Regions from separate parts of the Homo sapiens genome. Here regions 1, 3 and 4 are each linked to region 2. The links are contacts of gene promoters, found by promoter capture Hi-C in blood cells and fetal thymus (Javierre and others, 2016). All regions are on one chromosome and are shown on one strand. Each heading gives the region's core, a stretch centred on a gene start or on the middle of the fragment in contact. The rest is flanking DNA. Distances are from core to core; before and after follow the strand shown. Region 1 overlaps UQCC5 (ubiquinol-cytochrome c reductase complex assembly factor 5). Region 2 holds the start of ACTR8 (actin related protein 8). Region 3 overlaps PBRM1 (polybromo 1). Region 4 overlaps GNL3 (G protein nucleolar 3).

Evidence for each region. Contacts are between HindIII fragments. The CHiCAGO score rates a contact against its expected background, and 5 or more counts as called.
Region 1: a contact is called between a fragment that was not itself captured here and the fragment with the promoter of ACTR8 in region 2, in 1 of 17 cell types (neutrophils). The highest score is 7.7, in neutrophils.
Region 3: a fragment that was not itself captured here is called in contact with the fragment with the promoter of ACTR8 in region 2 in 1 of 17 cell types (neutrophils); the score reaches 7.8 in neutrophils.
Region 4: a fragment that was not itself captured here is called in contact with the fragment with the promoter of ACTR8 in region 2 in 1 of 17 cell types (neutrophils); the score reaches 6.6 in neutrophils.

What each region holds. Positions count from the first base shown.
Region 1 is chr3:52,537,695-52,540,394 of GRCh38, reverse strand. All of the region lies in intron 1 of UQCC5 (ubiquinol-cytochrome c reductase complex assembly factor 5), which reads right to left. Among named protein-coding and RNA genes, the nearest start is that of UQCC5, 2.4 kb to the right of the region's middle. The HindIII fragment of the contact is 7,688 bases long and covers 1-2,700 here.
Region 2 is chr3:53,880,875-53,883,574 of GRCh38, reverse strand. ACTR8 (actin related protein 8) reads left to right here and starts at 1,423. Exons shown (of 13, transcript NM_022899.5): 1 at 1,423-1,596. The coding sequence starts at 1,474. RefSeq lists silencers at 1,207-1,296, 1,687-1,796 and an enhancer at 1,457-1,536. The HindIII fragment of the contact is 9,111 bases long and covers 1-2,080 here.
Region 3 is chr3:52,673,226-52,675,925 of GRCh38, reverse strand. The region is part of intron 3 of PBRM1 (polybromo 1); the gene reads left to right. Among named protein-coding and RNA genes, the nearest start is that of PBRM1, 11 kb to the left of the region's middle. The HindIII fragment of the contact is 1,908 bases long and covers 327-2,234 here.
Region 4 is chr3:52,693,028-52,695,727 of GRCh38, reverse strand. It overlaps GNL3 (G protein nucleolar 3), which reads right to left. Exons shown (of 15, transcript NM_014366.5): 10 at 2,682-2,700; 11 at 2,399-2,541; 12 at 2,184-2,320; 13 at 1,921-2,096; 14 at 1,625-1,691; 15 at 1,231-1,535. The coding sequence ends at 1,453. GLT8D1 (glycosyltransferase 8 domain containing 1) reads left to right here. Exons shown (of 10, transcript NM_018446.4): 8 at 141-307; 9 at 426-538; 10 at 693-1,242. The coding sequence ends at 883. Among named protein-coding and RNA genes, the nearest start is that of SNORD69, 1.6 kb to the right of the region's middle. The HindIII fragment of the contact is 2,205 bases long and covers 191-2,395 here.

The DNA of each region.
Region 1 (2,700 bases), core at 54-2,553, 1.3 Mb after region 2:
TTAAGAAACATATTTAAAATTAAAACAATCTGAATAATTTAACCAATAGTCTAGGTCTGTCACCTACTTCTGAATCTTGGCATTAATATTTAACTCAATGCCAAAATAAACTTAAAACAAAACTTGAGTTAGATGAGGACTATGATAATGGAGTTCTAGACTTAAATAGGGTAAAAGTCAGTGTCTTGAAAGATAGAATCATGTCTTAGCACATCTCTTAGTGTTTTAAGATGTCCCTCACTTCCTTCTCCCCCATAATTTCTATTCTGTGCTCTGAAGTCATCCTTCTTAACTAAAACCTGGCTCCTCAAAGGCACTTCTTGCCTCTTGGCTCTCTGATGCTCCCTCTCCCATATCCAGAAACCTTCAGGTGGGGAGAGGAGATCAGTTTCCTTGTTCCAGCTGCTGCTTTGCCAGACCTTTGACTCGCCACCTTCATGTAAAGAATCTTCTTTCCAGGCCGGGCACAGTGGCTCACGCCTGTAATCCCAGCACTTTGGGAGGCCGAGGCAGGCGGATCACAAGGTCAGGAGTTTGAGACCAGCCTGGCCAGTATGGTGAAACCCCGTCACTACTAAAAATACAAAAATTAACCGGGTGTGGTGGCAGGCACCTGTAGTCCCAGCTACTCAGGAGGCTTAGGCAGGAGAGTCGCTTGAACCCAGGAGGCAGAGGCTGCAGTGAGCCAAGATCGTGCCACCACACTCCAGCCTGGGTGACAGACCAAGACTCTGTCTCAAAAAAAAAAAAAAAAAATCTTCTTCCTTCATGGCTCATGCCATTTGTCTGCCACCATCTTTCTTTGGCACCTGCTCTCCATCATGCCCCTTCAGTCACCAAAAGTGCTGGCCTCTGGCTCAGGTTCCTTGACCCTGTCCTGTGCCTTCTCCCCAGATACCACCATTACCCATGGGGATGAAGCTCCAGTACCCTTCACCTTCAACATCTTCCAGTCACTTGCAGGGCTCCTCTGAAGGATTTCTGTTCATACCACAACCCCCGTTACCTTTCCAGCCCTCCTGTCCTTGGACCTCACGTTTCTTCCCCAGGTCCTTGGCCCCGTCTTACCCGCTCAGCCGCTTCTTGTTCTCTCTCCTGGCAAATCAGCTAAAATTCCTTCATACTCTTGTCAATATCTTAACTTCCTGACACACCCTCAAAACCCCAACCACAGATTAATCCAACTTCCTCCCTTCCCCATGCTTCACCCTGCTTGCTGTGTCCTGAGGGGCCAACTGATGCCTCTAACTGGGTCCACTGAGGTGTCTGACAATCCTGTTTCCTCAGCCATCATCCTGACTCTTTTTCACCCACCCCCAAATGGCCATTTCCTCTCTTCCTTCACAGAGGAAAGTCATCATAAGGAACTCTTCCAGCTAACTTCCAAGGGCTTACTCCTGTCACCCAGCTCTGGTCCCACCCTCTCAAGGGTCCAGTATCTCCAGCCTCTCTCCACCCTCTCCTTCTAGATCATTATTTGCATATCCTGCAGTCTCTCCTAGAGGAAGGGGGGTTACCTCCCCTTCACAGAGCCAGATGTATTTAACCTCCTGTCTTCTGTGATAACAAATCCTCCTGGTTTCCCTCCTTGCCTTTCTGGCCATTCTCAGTTACCCTTAAAATGTTGGGATTTGGGCCAGGCGCAGTGGCTCACGCCTGTAATCCCAGCACTTTGGGAGGCCAAGGTGGGCAGATCACCTGAGGTCAGGAGTTCTAGACCAGCCTGACCAACATGGAGACACCCCATGTCTACTAAAAATACAAAATTAGCCGGGCGTGGTGGTGCATGCCTGTAATCCCAGCTACTCCAGAGGCTGAGGCAGGAGAATCACTTGAACTTGGGAGGCAGAGGTTGCGGTGAGCCAAGATCGCACCACTGCACTCCAGCCTGGGCAACAAGAGCGAAACTCAGTCTCAAAAAATAAATAAATTAAATTAAAATGTTGGGATTTGACTTCCATCATAATTTGCTTCTGAATGGTTCACAAATCCCAATTTCTGGCCCAGATTTGCCTCCTGAGCTTCAGCTCTGTATAACCATATCTACCTCGTCACGTCCCAGATGGTGCCCAGGATGGCCCTGCCTGTGTTCGGCACCTTCAGGAAATGCACTACCCCCTGCCCCAGGTGTCCCACCAGAAGCCTCCACTCCTCATCTCCTGAGTCCACTTAATCACCATGCCCTGTCAGTACTACCTCTGGGCTGTCTTTTACTTCCATCCCTTCTTGGTATCCTTTCTGCCCCAACCTAGACCAGGCCACTGTCTCAACTCTGGACAGCCATACAGCGTAACTGTTCCTACCAATCTGTCCACAAGGAGCCATTCTCCACATGTTAAAGCCTCTCCCTAAAATGACTCAATCCTTGGGATCCATTCTTGGTTCTCCAGTCCCTTTGCCACCCTGCCCAGGCACCCTTCTAGCCATCCCCACTTTGTTGATCTGCTTCAATCCCTCAAACACACAGCATACTCTCACACAAGTGCTCCTACCACTGCCATGGAGATGCTTTCAATTCCACACACCTTCCCCTCATCTGACTGACACCTACTCAGTCTTCAGGTCCTACTTTACTTGGTAGCTGCTTCCGGAAGCCTTCCCTGCACCATCTAGTCCAGTTGAGGCGCCCACCCGAGAGTCCTATGTTCCTCCCACTTCCTTCTCACAGCACTGATCACTTTGTATGCTAATTGTCTTTAT
Region 2 (2,700 bases), core at 174-2,673:
TAGCTTATGATCTTGAGTGAATTATGCCATTTTATCCCACTTCACTCACCTGTAAAACGGGGATTAAATTTTTACCTCCAAGAGTTCTTTATTTAGTATTTAGTCATCACATGCTTATTGGGCACCTACCATGTGCTGAAGATAACTGGCAAAGTCTCACGGAGCTTACATTCTAGTGTGGGAGACAGTGAGCAGGCATGATAATTACAGACTAATGCTTCATGCTTCAAAGGGAATAGGATGATGAGAGAATAACTGCGGAAGGCCTGAGGTGACATTTGAGTTCAGACGTGAGAATGAGACAGCTGAGGGAAGAGCATCCAAGGCAAAATGAACAGCAAGTGCAACAGCCCGATGACGGGAAGGGCTTGGCATGTCTGAGAAAGATAAAACAGGTGTAGCTGGAAATGCCAAGGAATGGGGAGAGTGTTGTGAGGTGAACTTAGAAATGTAGCAATAACTAGATATGGTCTTTAGGTGGTGGTTAGTTTAGATTCTGTTCTTTGAGCAAAGGGAAACCATTAGAGTTTAAAGCATGAGTGACATCTAATTTTTGAGGTAAGTCTTAGTGGAGTGCTGGGTACATAGTAGTATTAACTACGTAATATTTTAAAACAACGTGGGCAACTATATAAGAACAGATCATAGGGGGACAGGACAAGGAGTTCGAGTTAAGAGGCTGTTGTAGTCATCCAGGTGAGATGATAGTGGCTTGGGCTAGGTAGTGGCATGGGAATGGAGAAGTGGATGAATTCAAGATCTATTTTAGAGACTGCAGGATTTACTGATGGATTGGATGTAGAAGCTGTCAACAAGTGAAGAATCAAAATGACATTTACTGAGATGGTGAAAGTGAGAGGGGAGGGAATCAAGAGTTAAATTTTGGACATATTTAAGTTTGCAGTGCCTTGTAGACAATCCAGATGGAGAGACCAAGTAGGCACTGGTTATCAGTACGGATCTCTCTGAGCGGTTCATCCTGGATATATATATTTGGGAATCGTATTCATTGCTAAAGCCAGGAAACTGGATAGTCACCCAAGGAGTGTGCCTGGAAAAGACCTAACCCCAACATCAGAGGCTGGACTGAACATGAAGACATATGAGAAAAACTAAGAGTACATATGGTATCTGGGAAGCCAGGAGAAGAGATGCCTGTGAGGACGAAATAAGATGCGGGTTATCAGCCGACCCCCACTAGGCGCTCGAAAAGCTATGTGTACTATGTTGCTGGCATCTACACAGTCAGGACTAATCACAGCAACACCCACCCAATCAATCCGCATGCACACCCCGCCCCCAGCCCCTGCGCCGGGCAGCCCCACCCCCGCCTTTTCGGAGCCCTCTGGGGCGACTCCGCGGCGGCCATCTTGACTGTGGGCAGCCGGCCGTGCGCCTGCGCGGTGGCCCTTCCATCCCGGCAGTCGTGGCTGCAGCGCTGAGGCGAGAGGTTGGTGGGTGTCTCCGGCCATAATGACCCAGGCTGAGAAGGGTGATACGGAGAACGGAAAGGAGAAGGGCGGCGAGAAGGAGAAGGAGCAGCGCGGCGTGAAGCGGCCCATCGTGCCCGCGCTGGTGCCGGAGTCGCTGCAAGAGGTGCGGCTCTGGCTGGGTTGGAACTCTTTGCCCTTGCTTGGGTCCTCCGCTGCCAGGCAAGGGGCGGGAGGCGGCGGGAGGCTTCGAGTCCCCCTTGCAGGCCCCAGCCCCTGGTGGGGGGAGTGCGGAAGCGGTCGTTCTTTTCCGGGTGGTGGCGCGCCGGGACGCCGAGGGCTGGGAGGTGCGGAGCGCCAGGAGCCAGGCGGAGCCCCCGCAGGGACACCGCTCCGATCTCCCGCACGCCCCACCGTCTGGTTGTGTGCGCTCCTGCCCGGGCTCTGGCCTCAGCTTCCCCGACCATAAAACGACCACGGTGATAACCAGCCGCCTCGCAAGTTGCCGTGAGGGTTAAATGGTGGCAGATAGAGTTTAGGACCAGGCTGGCTCACTGGGAGCGTCAGCCTGTGCTTGTTAAGGGATAGTTTGGGGTCCAGGCTTTTTCCTTTGTTAAGGAAATCTCAGATAATGGAAGTCATTTCAAGCTTAAAAGCAAGGAAATGGTGGACATTTGTCTAAATATATATTAAGAGCTTGTGTATCAAAAACAACACTATTAGACCAAACTAAACTAACCAGAAAAAATTATTTGCAGTAGCGTGCCTGGCAGAGGACCTTAGATGTATACACATACACAAAACCTTACTGATCAGTAACTAAAACAGCATTCACGTAGGAAAACGGGCACAGGCAGTGTACAATTCACAGAAGAAATGAGGCATAAACTGCTCAGAAATTCATGTAGGACATCTCTGATCCAGCTTCCTTACCGGTAGATGGGTTAAGGATAATACCTAACTAGTAGGGCAGCTACTAGTTAGTTATCACTAGTATGACAGTGCCTGGCACACCGTAAGCCCAGAGTGGCCATTACTGTTGCACAGGCCTGGTTTCTCCATCTGTCTAGTTGAGAAGGCTGACTGGATGGTCTGTAAGGGCCTTGCCAGATCCTTCCCTCTAGGATTCTCCCACTCTGTGGGGGGTGATTAGGAGGAGAGAGGTCACACTTGGAGATAGGACAACAGGTATCAGAGCATGGCATGGAATGGGCTTGTGCAGAGGGCAGTATTGGGCACTCAAGCAAGTACCTCCTCCATCCCCGACAGT
Region 3 (2,700 bases), core at 31-2,530, 1.2 Mb after region 2:
GCCGGGATGGTCTCGATCTCCTGACCTCGTGATCCGCCCGCCTCGGCCTCCCAAAGTGCTGGGATTACAGGCGTGAGCCACCGCGCCCGGCCCCCGCTTCATTCTTTATATGTGTGTATCCAGTTTTCCCGGTATCGTTTGTTGAAAAGACTGTGCTTTTCTCATTGAATGGTTTTGGCGCCTTTGTCAAAATTTGCTTGACCGTGTATGTGAGGGTCGTTTCTAGGCTCCATTCTATTCCATTGGTCCCTGTGTCTGTTTTTATACCAGTAGCACACATTTTGATTACTGTGAACAACATATTCAGTGGCAAAATACTTAAAGCTTTTCCTCTAAGATCACGAACAAGACAGAGATGCCCACTTTCACCACTTCAACACCTTGTTCACTGTGGAATAAATCCCACCTGGTTATGGTATATAATCCTTTTAATATCCTGCTGAATTCAGTTTGCTAATATTTTATTGAGAAATTTTGCATCAGTATTCATAAGGGATATTGATCAGTAGTTTTCTTGTAGTATCTTTGTCTGGCTTTGGTATCAGAGTAATGCTAGCTTCATAGAATAAGTTAGGACGTGACCTCGCCTCTTCAATTTTTTGGAAAAGTTTCATAAGGCTTGGTGTGTTAGTTCTTGAAATGTCTGGTTAGAATTCATCAGTGAAGCTATCAGTCTAGGGATTTTCTTTGTGGGAGATTTTTTATTACTGATTCAGTCTCCTTACTAGTTATAGGTTTACTCAGGCTTTGTATGTCTTTAGTAGGTTGTGTGTTTCTAGGAAATTATCCATTTCTTCTAGTTTATCTAATTTGTTGGCATACATGTTTTCCTAGAACTCTCATAATCCTTTTTATTTTTGTGGCATTGGTTGTAATGTCTCCTCTTTATGATTTTAGTTATTTGCATCTCTTTTCTCCCTTACTTCTTCCCTCCCTCCCTCCTCCTTTCTGTCTTTTTTTGAGACAGGATCTTGCTTTGGCACCCAGGCTGGAGTGCAGTGGCAATCACAGTTCAGTGCAGACTCAACCTCCCGGACTCAAGCAGTCCTCTCACCTGATGCTACCATACCTGGCTAATATATATGTTATATATACGTGTGTATGTATATAGTAAACACATAAAATATATATATTGTATATATAACGTATTTTTTATTTATATATGTAAAAATATGCTGGATTCTTACCTAACGCTACATACATATTAAAAAATAACGTATGTAATGTTAGGTAAGGAGATATATGTGTGTGTGTGTGTGTATATATATATATATATATATATTTTTTTTTTTTTTTTTGGTAGAGACAGGGTTTCCCTGTGTTGCCCAGGCTGGTCTCAAACTCCTGGGCTCAAGTGATCCTCCTACCTTGGCCTCCCGAAGTGCTAGGATCACAAGTGTGAGCCACCACACCCAGCCTCTCTCTCTCTTTTTTTTTTTTTTTTTTGAGATGGAGTTTCGCACCAGGCTGGAGTGCAGTGGTGCGATCTCGATTGTGGCTCACCACAACCTCCGTTTCCCAGGTTCAAGCGATTCTCCTGCCCCAGCTTCCCGAGTAGCTGGGATTACAGGCATGGGCCACCACGCCCAGCTAATTTTGTATTTTTAGTAGAGACAGGGTTTCTCTATGTTGGTCAGGCTGGTCTCAAACTCCCGACCTTAGGTGATCCGCCTACCTTGGCCTTCCAAAGTGCTGGCATTACAGGCGTGAGCCACCGTGCTCAGCTCTTTCTTTCTTAGTTAATCTAGCTAAGTGTTTACCAATTTTGTTGATCTTTTAAAAAAACCAACTGTTTAATTTTTAAAATTGTTTTTCTATTCTCTAATTTCGTTTATCTGCATTCTATATATATATCTATATATATATTTTTTTTTTGAGACAGTGTCTTGCTCTGTTGCCCAGGCTGGAGTGCAGTGGCGTGATCATGGCTTATTGCAGCCTCTGCCTTCCAGGTTCAAGTGATTCTTATGCTTCAGCCTCCCAAGTAGCTGGGATTACAGGCGTGTGCCACCATGCCTGGCTAATTTTTGTATTTTTAGTAGAGATAGGGTTTCACTTTGTTGCCCAGGCTGGTCTTAAACTCTTGACCTCAAGTGATCTGTCCACCTCATCCTCCCAAAGTGCTGGGATTATAGGCATGAACTACTGCACTGGCCCTCCTTTCTATTTATTATCTACTGCTAGCTTTGGGTTTAGTTTGCTCTTCTTTTCTCTAATTCCTTGAGAAAGAAGCTTTTTTTTTTTTTTTTTTTTTGAGATGGAGTCCCACTCTGTTGCCCAGGCTGGAGTGCAGTGGCACAGTCTTGGCTCACTGCAACTTCCACCTCCTGGGTTCAAGCAATTGTCCTGCCTCAGCCTCCCGAGTAGCTGGGATTACAGGCATACACCACTATGCCTGGCTAATTTTTTTTGTACTTTTAGTAGAGACGGAGTTTTGCCATATTGGCCAGGCAGGTCTCGAACTCCTGACCTCAGGTGATCCACCCGCCTCAGCCTCCCAAAGTGCTGGGATTACAGGCATGAGCCACTGCACCTGGCCGAGAGTGAAGCATGTTTTTTAAATTATTTAATTTTTTTGTTTCATTTTGTTTTTTAACACCTGGTTCACATAGGCAGTATAAAAATTAATAGTTCTTATGGCTGGGCGCGGTGGCTCATGCCTGTAATCCCATCACTTTGGGAGGCTGAGGCGGGTGGATC
Region 4 (2,700 bases), core at 44-2,543, 1.2 Mb after region 2:
TTCCTATTCTAACTTGGAATTTCAAATATTTATTTTCTAATCTGAAGAAGTCAGTTTAACAGCTCTTCTCTCTACTGGCTATAAAATTGTATCTATTTTGTTTGAAGCAGTAAGTACATATATCCTATTTGTGTTTTTAGTACAATTACATTGGCTATCTTGACTATAAAAAGGAAAGAATTCGTAAGCTTTCCATGAAAGCCAGCACTTGCTCATTTAATCCTGGAGTTTTTGTTGCAAACCTGACGGAATGGAAACGACAGAATATAACTAACCAACTGGAAAAATGGATGAAACTCAATGTAGAGTAAGTATGTAACTGGCCTAGCTGTGAAAAACTGTTGTATTTCAATTCCTAGAGTCTTGACTAACAGGAGTTAGTCAGTACTTTTCACTAACAAACATTTGTTTTCTGTCCCACCAAGAGAGGGACTGTATAGCAGAACCCTGGCTGGTAGCATCACAACACCTCCTCTGCTTATCGTATTTTATCAACAGCACTCTACCATCGATCCTATGTGGAATGTCCGCCACCTTGGTAAGTAGAATTAACCAGTGGCATAAGCTAGTAAAGAATTGGTATCTAAAGAACTATCCTCAGGGATGGGGTATATTCTTTGTTTCCCTTAAGTAAGTTTTCTGCACAATTTCACATGGCGCAACGATGTGGCTATTTTTGTCTCAAATGTAAGGTTCCAGTGCTGGAAAACGATATTCACCTCAGTTTGTAAAGGCTGCCAAGTTACTCCATTGGAATGGACATTTGAAGCCATGGGGAAGGACTGCTTCATATACTGATGTTTGGGAAAAATGGTATATTCCAGACCCAACAGGCAAATTCAACCTAATCCGAAGATATACCGAGATCTCAAACATAAAGTGAAACAGAATTTGAACTGTAAGCAAGCATTTCTCAGGAAGTCCTGGAAGATAGCATGCGTGGGAAGTAACAGTTGCTAGGCTTCAATGCCTATCGGTAGCAAGCCATGGAAAAAGATGTGTCAGCTAGGTAAAGATGACAAACTGCCCTGTCTGGCAGTCAGCTTCCCAGACAGACTATAGACTATAAATATGTCTCCATCTGCCTTACCAAGTGTTTTCTTACTACAATGCTGAATGACTGGAAAGAAGAACTGATATGGCTAGTTCAGCTAGCTGGTACAGATAATTCAAAACTGCTGTTGGTTTTAATTTTGTAACCTGTGGCCTGATCTGTAAATAAAACTTACATTTTTCAATAGGTATCTTCTTTTTTTATTCCAGATAACTACTTCCACTCACAATGAGATGAATTGTCTTTTTACAGAATTTAGGGATTCCAAGTTGCCTGGTTTTAATATAATACATATTCACAAAATTTACACAGCTCATGCATACCATAACTTATACAGAGAACAGTTTAGCAGTCTGCTTAAAATGTTAAAAAAAAAATCATAAAAAGCCATTGTTCTGTTACACATAATCTGTACTGAAGTCATAAGCATCATCCTCTTCAATGATTTTATCCAAGATAAAAGACCTTGTAGACTGTTCACCTATATTGCAGGAAAATAAAGAGATTTTCAAAAAGTAAAAGTGATTCTATACCATGCTGCTTCGTTAGAACCCCTTTTGCCTGCCTCACCTGCTGTAGTCTCCTCAGACAGTGCCTCCCCTGTCTCTTCTGCAGCAAACATGCCTGAGCTGTTTTCCTGTGTGACAAAGAAAAATAGTGCTGGATTAGTAGCCCTTGTCTGCTCATTTAATCCAAGTAGTTATGTACCTGAAAAATTAACTCTTTGGAGGTACATATAACGGGATGTGCAAAATTAAGGCTAATGGATCACAAGCCTCAAATATTTCCTATCTTCAGTTCCTTCCATTATGTATTATAATGCTAGAAAACTCACTTCAGTTTTAACTCATGGAGGACACACTTACATCAACTTCTTCATCAACAGTTTCCTGGTCACTGTCTTTGTCATCCTCCCTCTCCTCCTGCTTCCTTTCTTTCCGTTTTGGCAATTCTTCATGTATGTCCTTTTCTTCTATTATTCCATTTGTCAGACCGGAAGACTGGAAAAGGATGCTATTGGCCAAATGAGGGCCCTTGATGGCTGGGAAAGAAAGCAAGCCCATGTAAACAGGTAAGAGCTCCACTGGCCTGTCAGCTGATGAAGACAGCAGCGACACACAATTCTCACCTCTTATGCTCTGTGCATTGTTCTTTTCCAGTTCTTCCAGATTGAAGCCGCTTTTCATGTCTACCACAATACTCTCATTAAAATATGGAGGAGGAGTCCAAGATGTAGGGGGATGGCAATAGTAAGCTAATGAGGCACTGATATTAAAAATAAGATGTGTCAAAAGAAGGTTTATTCTAGTGGTCACCAAAATGCCAACAGAAAAGAAAGCTTACCCTGTCCACTCAGACCACAGCAGTTTGGCAGCACCTTCAACATTTGGGATTCCACCTTTTTGGTGCATACCTCTTCTCTGAGCAAGCACAGTAAAAAATTCCAGAGAATTCCTGTAGCCTGGGACAGTATATTTCAGTACTACCTTAAAAAAAAAACCAAACAAAGGAGCTGTCCTTCATCTGACATGCCAGTACTTTAAAACACTTCCAAGATTTTTCTACTCAAAATGCTTATGATGAAAGAAGATGGCTCCAAGGAGCTCATGAGAAGGGGTCCTTTTACCTGTCGAGCATCAGCCTGG